Regions from separate parts of the Homo sapiens genome. Here all the other regions are linked to region 1. The links are contacts of gene promoters, found by promoter capture Hi-C in human tissues and cell types (Jung and others, 2019). All regions are on one chromosome and are shown on one strand. Each heading gives the region's core, a stretch centred on a gene start or on the middle of the fragment in contact. The rest is flanking DNA. Distances are from core to core; before and after follow the strand shown. Region 1 holds the start of HSPA4L (heat shock protein family A (Hsp70) member 4 like). Region 2 overlaps INTU (inturned planar cell polarity protein). Region 3 overlaps MFSD8 (major facilitator superfamily domain containing 8).

Evidence for each region. The method cuts DNA at HindIII sites, captures the fragments that hold promoters and counts their contacts. A contact is called where the count stands out against the background at its distance.
Region 2: a fragment that was not itself captured here is called in contact with the fragment with the promoter of HSPA4L in region 1 in 1 of the 25 tissues and cell types used here (heart right ventricle).
Region 3: a fragment that was not itself captured here is called in contact with the fragment with the promoter of HSPA4L in region 1 in 1 of the 25 tissues and cell types used here (adrenal gland).

The regions. Positions count from the first base shown.
Region 1 is chr4:127,779,797-127,783,814 of GRCh38, reverse strand. HSPA4L (heat shock protein family A (Hsp70) member 4 like) reads right to left here and starts at 1,493. Exons shown (of 19, transcript NM_014278.4): 1 at 1,158-1,493. The coding sequence starts at 1,264. RefSeq lists enhancers at 743-822, 431-1,423, 1,323-1,472 and silencers at 1,613-1,682, 1,963-2,132. The HindIII fragment of the contact is 5,760 bases long and covers 491-4,018 here.
Region 2 is chr4:127,646,594-127,650,685 of GRCh38, reverse strand. All of the region lies in intron 2 of INTU (inturned planar cell polarity protein), which reads right to left. Among named protein-coding and RNA genes, the nearest start is that of INTU, 16 kb to the right of the region's middle. The HindIII fragment of the contact is 4,339 bases long and covers 1-4,083 here.
Region 3 is chr4:127,952,542-127,956,286 of GRCh38, reverse strand. All of the region lies in intron 2 of MFSD8 (major facilitator superfamily domain containing 8), which reads left to right. Among named protein-coding and RNA genes, the nearest start is that of MFSD8, 11 kb to the left of the region's middle. The HindIII fragment of the contact is 5,881 bases long and covers 1-3,745 here.

The DNA.
Region 1 (4,018 bases), core at 244-2,743:
TGCCATATTTTAAAGCTTTCCATAGAATAGTAAATGAGGCATTTAAAGACCATTGGACACTGACCTTGTTTTAGTATAGTTAAGGTATTATATTTTGGACCATTCAGAACGGTCAAATTAAGATGCCAAATTACCTTTCCATAAAAAGTAATATAGGTTTCATACAGTTGGTTTCCTCATAAAATTACCAGTAACAGCAGCCTATAAGCAGCAACTAGTTTTTCATATTTCAGAATTACTTCATTATATTCCTTGCCAACAAACTTCCCAGGCCAGAGAAACAACGGAACATGTGGAAACATGTTTCCATGACATAACGCCGCTCCTCCTAAGCCTTTCATTAAGCGTTCATAATAGAATCACTCCACAGTCATGTTTATACGGGACAGCTGCCCCCGACTCCGGCAATTCACTCTGCAGAAACACGCTTTTGGTCCGACCCAACCCCGCCGCATTCCAGCAACTGACGTAGTTACCAATGCACAAGGCCAGTGACTCCCATCCCGAGGCTCTCCCTATCAATGCACCATTGACCTGGCCCTGTAAACCGGCTCCATTACCTGCAGTTCTCAAGGGCACTGGGTTTTGTAAAACCCCACATGCCTCACTCCCCGCCCTTAAAAAAAAAAAAAAGGCTTTCGGGGCCAGATGAACCTGCAATTCATCTCTGACGTGTGCAGCCGAAGCTGACTTTTTACTTTTCTGAGAAAAAGCTGTCACCCAGAGGGACGGGGAAAGGAAGGAGGGCAGCTGGCGCGGGGCCGATAATCCCACGTAAACCTCGTTAGAGGCAACCGGAGATCTTTCTCAATATTCCGGACGCCAGGGGCTGTCCCACAGCAACCTCTTCCTCGCAAGCAAAAGAGGCGTTGGGGGACAGCGGCACGAGGCAGGGGACGTGCGTAGGTACAGAAAAGAGAGCTGCGCAAACTAGTGCGGTCCCTCGTCCTTGAAGGAAAAGAAGCTTTGCGGGGCGAGGAAGTCCGACTGCCACCCGGCGGTCTCTAGGGACTGCGGTTGACGGGTTGCACCTGTCATCTCGGGGTTCGGCGCACGTTAGGGGAAAATCCGAGGAAGCGAGCAGACAGGACAAACGTTAAGGACGGGAGAGAAAAACGTTTCTTAGGGTCGAGGTGATGCTCAGCAGAGGCACTTACGGGGTACACCTGTCGCTGTACTCATTGGCGATGGTCTCGATGCCGCCACTTCTCGCGACAGCAATGTAGCAGTTGAGAAAGCCGAGGTCAATGCCAACCACAGACATCCCGCCGCGTGATGGTCGGGCTGCTGGTACTGAACCCTTCGGTACGGGAACCGTGTCCTCTTCTGGGCTATTGCTGCTGGGATTGCGACTCCTACCAGAAGCAAACGAGAGGGGACCCCAAGTCGCTAAGCAGAAAATCTAGGGCAGGGAGTCGGAAACCCGCGGAAGGAGCAGAGGCCGTCAGCGCCGCAGCCTGCACCGCGTCCCGCAGCCTGGGTCTTTCCCTACTGCGGTTCGGCCGCCTCCAACCGGCGGTTACTGGGACCTGCGCCTGCGCGCTCGGCTGCCCGGGAGGCGCGCGAGCCTCCGCTCCGCGCCCGAGCCAGCTCCGGGCCCGGACTTCGGCCGCTTCCGTCAGCACTCGGGCAACGGCTGCCCAAGAAGCTGCGGGTTCGAGAAAGATCTGGAAAATGGAGGCTGCTGAGCTATCCGGGGGCGGGAGAAGCGGGAAGGCGGGGCGGGGAGGATCGGGGAAAGGAGGCTAGGCACATTGGCTTGCTCGCCCTCGCTCGGCAGTAGGACGTCGGGCGGTCGGGCTAGGTGAGAGGCAGGCGACCGGCCGGCCCGGGGCTTTGCGAACGTGTTTTGAGGCACATTTTTGGGTTGTTTTGGCAACCGGAGGCGTGCTTGTCACGGCGGCAGGATGCTGTCCTGGCTGGCGGGCGCCGCCCCCTCACCCCCTGCCCTCAGAAGGGCTCGCCCGCAGGCCTCGCCTCCCCGAGGGGCCCATGTGCAGCCCGGCGCCCTCCCCTTGTGGCTGGAGGCCCGCCGCGCCCGGCTCTGTGAGGTGGCGCGCATTGTCCGACGTCCGCCGCTCCGCCCTGTCCAGCCCCGGGGGAGCTGCCGAGCCCGGGACAGACTCTTGTGCGAAAGCGGGATGAGCACATGTTAGGTTTTTTTCTTTTTTCATCAGCAGGATTTGAAATATCAAAAGTCAAACTTCTGTCAAGAAATAAGATCACACTGACAACTTTCCCTCCACGTACCTTTCCTCACACCTTTCTAAAAGATGCTGGCCCCGCCGCTGACCCTTGTCTCTGGAAACCAGTTTTACAGGAAAGTGACCTTAATTAAGTGTGCCACTCACACCAGCCAAGTCTGTGCTTTAGCCTCCAGCCGCTGCCCTGTGGTCCTCAAAAAAGAGCCCAGTGTGGTCCAGCGCCCTCCCTCTTGGTTTGATCGGCATGTGTTGCCTGTCTGTAATTAACCAAGTTTTATGTTACACTTAAGAAATTTGGCTGTCTTGTTGCTTTTCGTTCACTTTTACGTGTGTGCCCTGTTCCTTCTCTGCCAGTCCTTGGTCTGTTCCCTGTTCCTCCCCGTCCTCTTCATCTAGTCTCTGTTCCTTCTCATCCAATTCTTTGTGTGTTTTCCTGTTCCATTTTGGTATCCATCTTGAAAACAGGCGTGTTTTTTTGTTTGTTTGTTTTGTTTACTAGATTCTTTAGTATTCTGATTATCCCTAGTTGTCCACTTCTTTAAATAACTTAGATTTTTTACTATTAATAATGTTGCTACAGCAGCAGCAGCAGCAAGGGTGGCTATAGTTCCTGCTGCTGTTAGAATGAACGTGAAATCCATTTTCAAGGGCAATACTGAGGCAACTGGATTGTACAGTATTGCTTGGGCTCTGGTCTCTACATTGAAGAAATCAATCAGGCCTCTCTTCCCTTCATGAGCACTCAGGAGACGTGGAGCCCCTGGGTGAAGCTGCGCTCTGAGACACCGCAGAACTCGGCGTCCCAGCGGGCAGCTCGTGAGCAGAACAGGGATTGGGCGTTGCCCTGCGACTGAACCCTGGGCCCTGGTCCTGCTGGGCGCCTGTGACTTCCACCAGTTCTCCTCACACACCTCTTCTGACATCGGCCATCACTATCTAGATTTATTCCAGAATATCCTGAAATTCTCCTAGTACAATTAATTTATCTTAATTCCATTAGTTTATCCATGTTGTCTATACAACTTGAGGGTGTAAGAATGTTTTTTTTTTTTCCTATTAAAAATACCACTTAAAATATCAAAGTAAAAAGGAAGTTGAGGCCAGGAGCAAAGTGGTGTTATCATCACGTTCCTTACAATTACTGGCAGGACGTGAGAGTACCCAGTGGTTAAAACCATGACGGGCTTTGGGGTCACACAGATTTGGGTTGTAGTACCAGGCTTGCCTAACTTACTACCTGTATAACGTTTGGCAAGTTACTTAATGCTCCAAGCCACAGGTTCAGTCTGTTAAAATGAGGACAAATATGCCTACTGGGCTGTTTTTATGATTAAATAATGTAAGCACTGCATCAGTCCCTGGCACCAAACGGTCAATAAATGCTAGCTATGCTTAGCTGCTGAATGATCCTGATTCATGTACATTGGTCATGTATCCAGCAACCTTGCTGTATTCTAAATTCAAGTATTTGCAGAATTTCTTGGATTTTCTGTGTATAGAACAATATGGCCTGGGAAATAATGAATTTCTTCATTTCTATTTCTTCTGTTTCTTATTGTTTTGCCTGGATTATGTTGCTTAAGTGCTCCAGTAAAATTTTGAAAATAAACAGTAGTGGTAAGCATCCTTGTCTTGTCCCTAACATTAAATACCTTTGTGTTTATGATGTAAGAAAGTTAACAAAATTATCTTCTATTCCTACTTTGCTAAGAGATTTTTCTCATAAAATCCACTCACACGCCTGTAAGTGGATACTGAAACTTAACAAATGTTAACCATCATCTAATGACCTGTTTGTTGCCCTTTAATTTGTT
Region 2 (4,092 bases), core at 665-3,164, 130 kb after region 1:
CACGTATGTTTATTGCGGCATTATTCACAATGGCAAAGACTTGGAACCAACCCAAATGTCCAACAATGATAGACTGGATTAAGAAAATGTGGCACATATACACCATGGAATACTATGCAGCCATAAAAAATGATGAGTTCATGTGCTTTGTAGGGACATGGGTGAAATTGGAAATCATTCTCAGTAAACTATCGCAAGAACAAAAAACCAAACACTGCATATTCTCACTCATAGATGGGAATTGAAGAATGAGATCACATGGACACAGGAAGGGGAACATCACACTCTGGGGACTGTGGTGGGGTGGGGGGAGGGGGGAGGGATAGCATTGGGAGATATACCTAATGCTAGATGATGAGTTAGTGGGTGCAGCGCACCAGCATGGCACATGTATACATATGTAACTAACCTGCACAATGTGCACATGTACCCTAAAACTTAAAGTATAATAAAAAAAATTAAAAAATTAAAACAAAACAAAACAAAAACCCACCTGAAATTCTAATTAAATCCATGTGGCATATCATAACACAATATGCTATAGTATTCACTTCTGTTATTGATCTATGTCTACAAACAGTTCTTTGCTTCAAAGGCCCCAACCATATCAAAATACACTGCATGTTTGGTAAAAATTTCCTTTTCCGTGTACTTTAAAAGAAATGTGTATGTTTTCCAAATCTGATAATAAAATAAATATCAGTGTTAAAATGGAAATTCACTTTCAGAACATAATTAAAGATACTATCAAAATACCAGTGAGCTATATTAATAGAAATATAGACATACCAAAGTTATTTTTCTCATCATTCCTAAATATATTATTAGGAAATTGATGAAATAATTCATATTCATCCATTCATTTAAGAAATATTTACTGAGCACTTAATGTGTGCCAGGCACTCTTCTAAGCACTAGAGACAAAGAATTGAACAAAGACAAAATCTCTACTCTCAGGGAGCTTAATATTCTTTGGGGAAGATGGATAATAAACATGTATACAGGCTAAGTATCCCAAATCCAAAAATTGAAAATCCAAAATCCTCCAAAATCCAAAACTTTTTGAGCACCAACGTGACCCTCAAAGGAAATGCTCATTGGAGCATTTTGGATTTAGGATTGTCAGATTTGGGATGCTCAACAGGTAAGTATAATGCAATATTAAAAAAAAAAAAATTGGAAGCACTTCTGGTCCCAGGTATTTTGAAGAAGGAGTACTCAACCTGTATATGTAGAATCGTGTTGGTAGATAATTCTTCATGAGTCTCATGTTTCTGTACATCTTACAAGCCGAGGCATTGAGAGTCTTTGTTCTAGACTGTCTTTTCAAAGACGTTCGTGTAATGAACAGCCTTGGACAACAGAGATATGTTTCCATCCTGAGCAAAGGTCAAGCTTGTTTACTGAATGGTATAATAAGGTCAATGCTGTGCTCAATATCTTATTATTAATAACTGTTCTTTATAAAAGATTGGTGTTCCCTAAGTTCAGAGTTCCTTTCCTTTAAGGCAACCCATTATTAGGCATCACTTGGCCATCTGTAGGGTTGGCAAACAGATGAAAATGTTGCCACTGTAGGTACTGCTATTCCTCCTTTTTTTCCTTCCTCTCCTTGATACTCTATTGAATGAGAATGGGGTTAAGTGCAGAGTAAGCAGGAGTACTTTCTTAGGCCAACTGTGAAGGCTTGAACTAGGTTTAGATGCTCAAGAGATACAACTCAGATGGGAGTTTTGCAAGCATGGGCACCAAGTCATTATGATGGTTAACTATTACAGCACTTTGGACAAACTTTTCTTAAAAGTAAGAACTTGCAGACCAAAATAAACTTTCAACTTGAAGTCCACTTGGAAAAAAAAAAACACAACAAGATGCCTGTTTAATTTCTCCTATATAAGAGATTAAACAAAAGTACTATATCAAATTACTTATAGCTGTAGTGATTAAAAGAAAATAAAGGAATGATGGACACAGTATAGCTGTGTCAATGTAAAATGAAACCACTTTTGGACTATCCTAATGATTAGTTCTGTTGTCTATAGTTTGTTATCCTCAGGGCACAGAAATAGTAAAAACATTTTAAATTTGTTACTTTAAACTAAAACTCCATTGGATGATGTGCCAAATGACTTTTTTCTCCAAATCCTAATGAATACATTCCTGTAGCTGAGTGTTATAGGGAGTATTATCTAAAATTATCAAGTCTAACAAACCTCTAAAAAGAGGAGATGGTTCATCATAAAAATATATGAAAATAAATTCTGAAAGCAAGTGTAGTATACCCAATATTTTTAAATGTTTAGTAGAAAATTTTCCCATTCTATGAAATAAATATTATATCCACTTCTCATTCTCCCAGACATTTGTTTTCCTCTAGTGTTTCTGAACACTTCTGTGAAGTGACTCAGAGATGGCTGGCTTCCCGGACATCGCACCTTTGCAGTGGACATCCTAAACCCAAGGAAAGGTCTTTCTCCATAAGTACACGGGAGTCATTAATATGATCTGTCCCATTTCAAAGGCTAAAAGGGAATGAATTATATGATTGATTTGCATTGTTAAATAAGAAATGGCCTGGGTAGAAATATGAGAAAATTTTTATTAAGAGATATATTTAAGAACCAAATAAAATATTTTAAAAAGAGATCAGTTTATCACAGTTCCTCAATGTAAAGTTAAATTATGTGAGAAAAGCCATCAATTTCTCAGTATATACTTAACATCAAACAACATGTGTACTAAAGGGCTACTACATAAGGCACCAAGGGCTATGAAAATATATATGCAAAAGTTTGTTTACTGCTGTGTTTATACTATATATAAAATGAATATACAACTTAAATTATTTTTGACAAAAGATTATTGTATATAAATGTAGGAAAAGGGAGGATATATAACAAAATGTTGTCTTTGGGTATATGGAATTTTTCTTTTTTGCTTAATTGTATTTTCTAAATTGTCTACAATGAACGTATATTATTACTATCACAAAAAGAAAAAAAACTCATATTTTACCAAAAAACCCCCCACTGAGGTAGGCAGCATAATTGCCCCCCAAAGATGTCTATGTTTCAATCCCTGAAATCTCTGAATATGCTACCTTACACAGCAAGAAGGACTTTGCAGTTGTAATTAACTTAAAAGATTGGAAGACTGTCCTGGATTATCCGAATGATCGTCAGGTAAAGATAAAGGTCTTTATAGGAGGAAGGCAAAAGTGTCAGGGTCAGCATGAGAGAGACTGGAAGATGCTATGCTGCTGGCTTTGATGATGGAGGACAGGACCACAAGCCAAAGAATGCAGGTAGCCTCTGAAAGCTGGCCAAGGAATGGGATTCTTCCCTGGAGCCTCCAAAAGGAATGTAGCCCTGTGGACACCTTGATTTTCATACAAGAAGACCCATTTTAGATTTCTGGCTTACATTATTGCAAGATGATAAATCTGTATTGTTTTAAACCACTAAGTTTGTGGTAATTTGTCACGGCAGCAATAGAAGATGAATGCACTAGCCTAGTAATACAAAGCAATCTTTGTGATGCACCAAAAAAGGAATCACGAATGCTAAAAAGCAAAGATGGACACACAAGGTGTATCTGGAGGTCAGTTAGGAAAAAAATAAATCAGGCTTGCTTGTTAGAGGTGGGGATTTATGGATAGAAGGAGTGGCACATATGTATGGGACAGAAAAATGAGATCAAATTGTGAATTGAAATTGATCCTTTTAATTAAGCCAAATTTGACTTCAGGGAAAGGGAATCTGGTTTTTGAAAAGCAGTTACTATACTGCCATTTTATACATTCAAAACTCAATGTTTTCTGCCAATGCATTTACTAACAATAAATTTTGTTATTTTTTTTTGAGTTTCAATCTCAACCCCTCGTCTATAATATGTGGGCACCAAACTAGAGAGAATTAAGGCCCCTCCCAACCTACCATTCTGAAGTCCTTGAATAATGGTACCAACTTGCTTTTGTGAAAACTGTTAAATGAAGAAAAATCAGACATTTATCCTGCCTTTCCTGTCTAAACCATATGTCAAGGTTACCAGAGGTGAGGGGGAGCTTCTTTTTATGAAAGTAGTCTAACTGAA
Region 3 (3,745 bases), core at 863-3,362, 170 kb before region 1:
TGATCTGCCAGACTCAGCCTCCCAAAGTGCTGGAATTACAGGCCTGAGCCACCGCACCTGGCCAAAAGTATTTCATCTTTACAGCCATCAGTCAATTATTTGTTCTGCTACTTCTTGAAGATGTGCAAAATTTCTTTTTAAAAAAATTTTATTATTTATTATTATTTATTCATTTTTTGAGGTGGAGTCGCCCAGGCTGGAGTGCAGTGGTGTGATCTCGGCTTACTGCAACCTCTGCCTCCTGGGTTCGAGCAATTCTTGTGCCTTAGCCTCCCGAGTAGCTGGGACTACAGGCGCACGCTATCACGCCCAGCTAATTTTTTTGTATCTTTAGTAGAGATGGGGTTTCACGGCGTTAGCCAGGATGGTCTCGATCTCGTGACCTCATGATCTGCCCGCCTCAGCCTCCCAAAGTGCTGGGATTACAGGCGTGAGCCACCCCGCCTGGCCAGTGCAAAATTTCTTAAGTTTAAATATACAGTCTTAATTATACCTGTGTCTTAATGTCCCAAGACAGATTGTAGGTAACAGAATCTCAATTGTGCCTCAAAGAATTAACAACAAAACAAAATTCAATCTATTCTCTGCATTCAGGCAGAAAGGGGGAGAGCAGAGAACCCTTCCTGCATCTGCTATTTCTCGGTTGCCTTCAGTTTGAGATAATTAATATGGCAAAACAGCAGATTTTTGGAGTAGCATACTCTGATTGCCTTCAGTATATACCACATTTTTTTTTTTTTTTTTTTTGAGACAAAGTCTCGCTCTGTCGTCCAAGCTGGAGTGCAGTGGTGTGATCTTGGCTCACTGAAACCTCCGCCTGCGGGGTTCAAGCAATTCTCTGCCTCAGCCTCCCAGGTAGCTGGGATTACAGTCACCCACCACCATGCCCGGCTAATTTTTGTATTTTTAGTAGAGATGGGGTTTCACCATCTTGGCCAGGCTGGTCTTGAACTCCTGACCTCGTGATCCACCGGCCTCAGCCTCCCAAAGTGCTAGGATTACAGCCTAGCCTGGCCTACCACATTTTGTTTAGCCATTTATCTGTCGATGGACATTTGGGTTGCTTCCACCTCTTGGCTGTTGTGAATAGTGCTGCTGTCAATATGGGTGTGCAAATATCTCTTCAAGATCCTGCTTTTAGTCCTTTTGGGTATATATCCAGAAGTGAAATTGCTGGATCATATTATGATTTTCTTTTTAATTTTTTAATTTTTTGGAAAATTGCCATACTGTTTTCCATAGCAGCCGTACCATTTTATTTACATTCTCAACAACAGTCAGGGTTCCAATTTTTTCACATCCTTGCCAACGTTAACTTTCTTTTGGATAGTAGTCATCCTAGTGGATGAGATGGTATCTTGTTTTGATTTGCATCTTCTTAATGATTAGTGATGTTGAACATGTTTCTTGTGCTTTCTGTCCATTTGTATATCTTCTTTGGAGAAGTGTTTGTTCAAGACCATTGCCCATTTATTAGTTGGATTTTTTGTTGTTGAGTTGTAGGAATTCTTTATATACTCTGAATGTTAGCCCCTTATCCAATATATGATTTGTAAATATTTTCTCCCATTCCAGGACTCTTCTATTCAGTGTGCTAAATGTATCCTGTGATTCACATTCACAGAAGTGTTAAATACTGATGTAGTCCACCTTCTCTGTTTTTTTCTTTTTGAGACAGAGTCTTGCTTTGTTGCCCAAGTTGGAGTGCAATGGCACTATCTCGGCTCGCTGCAACCTCCCGCTTTCGGGTTCAAGCTATGCTTGTGCCTCAGCCTCCCTGGTAGCTGGGACTGCAGGTGTGTGCCACCACACCTGGCTAATTTTTGTATTTTTAGTAGAGACGGGGTTTTGCCATTTTTGCCAGGCTGATCTCAAACTCCTGACCTCAGGTAGTCCACCTGCCTTGGCCTCCCAAAGTGCTGGGATTACAGGCATGAGCCCCACACCTGGCTGTTTTTATCTTTTGTTGCCTCTAACCTCAACTTATTTTTATATTGATAAAACATACAAAAAGTAAAATACAAGAATCTCAATTTGTATTGCTTGATGTATTTTAACCTATTCACATTATTTCTGAATATGTAGTTACTAAAAAGTAAAACTTCATGAGGAAAACTTTTCAAAATATTAAACATCTATAACCATGTTAAAAGGATGGGATGAGAATATATAGGAATGATCAATATTGTGATAGTTTTTAAAGGACTGTTTTAGGAAATGAATTTTTTTCCAAGTAGAAACCCTCTAAATCTATAGGCACTAATATTACAAGTGGTCTCTTTCCCCTGAGAGGAATTAAGGAAGGTCATTTTACTAAATTGCTTTCCATATATTTTCCATATATTTTCTATTTACCCCAATCATCCTGTTTTCTCTCACTTGCCAAAGTTGTGCATGATTCAGTACTGGGTAAAAAGAAAAGTGAATGATAAAGGATATTTTCAACAATTCTTTATAATACATTTTCACCTTGCATTGTGTATCAGTTAGAATGACTTGTGCAGGGCCAGGCAAGGTGGCTCACGCCTGTAATCCCAGCACTTTGCAAGGCTGAGGCGGGCGGATCACGAGGTCAGGAGTTTGCGACCAGTCTGGCCAATATGGTGAAACCCCATCTCTACTAAAAATACACTTGAACCCAGGAGGCAGAGGTTGCACTGAGCCAAGATCACACCACTGCACTCCAGCCTGGGCCACAGAGCAAGATTCCGTCTCAAAAAAAAAAAAAAAAAAAAAAAAAAAACAGAATGCCTTGTGCAAATATCAGAAAAAGTGCTGAATCAGTTGGCTTATACTGTAACGTAATTTATTCTTTTTTTTTTTTTGAGCTGAGTGCAGTGGCACGATCTTGGCTCACTGCAACCTCAGCCTCCCGTGTTGAAACGATTCTCCTGCCTCAGCCTTCCAAGTAGTTGGGATTACAGGCATGCGGCACCATGCCCAGCTAATGTTGTATTTTTAGTAGAGACGGGGTTTCTCCATGTTGGTCAGGCTGGTCTTGAACTCCCGACCTCAGGTGATCCGCCCGCCTCAGCCTCCCAAAGTGCTAGGATTACAGGTGTGACCTGTAAATTTCTAAACCAACATCAACTAAGATGATGGGATTACTCCAGTTGAATTTTTTAGACTAATCAGAATGTACCCTCTGGGATCGAACATGGAGAGAGTTTCTCTTAGACCATGAGGCTTTGTTGAGGAAGTATGGATACCTGAATAGAACTGGGGTTCCATCAAGAAGGTGGAAGGGGCCAATGGATACTGTTTTGGTAGCAATGCCTGCAATTGATTTATTTTTCCATTTTAAACACTTCTGGTTTTTAGTACTCAATTATCTAAAATTATAAGAAACAATTTCAAATTCAACAGCAAAAAAAGAAAATTATTTTAACTTTAGATTTTTTTTTTTTTTTTTTTTTTGAGGTGGAGTCTCACTCTGTCTTCCAGGCTGAAGTGCAGTAGCACGATCTCAGCTCACCTCAACCTCTGCCTCCCGGGTTCAAGCGATTCTCCTGCCTCAGCCTCCTGAATAGATGAGACTACAGGTGCCTGCCACCACGCCCAGCTAATTTTTGTATTTTTAGTAGAGACGGGGTTTCACCATGTTGCCATTGCTGGTCTTGAACTCCTGACTTCAAATGATCTGCCTGCCGCAGTCTCCCAAAGTGCTTGGATTACAGGCATCATCCACTGTGCCTGGCCAACTTTAGATTTTAATTGGCATGTTAAACATTTTGTTTACAAATTT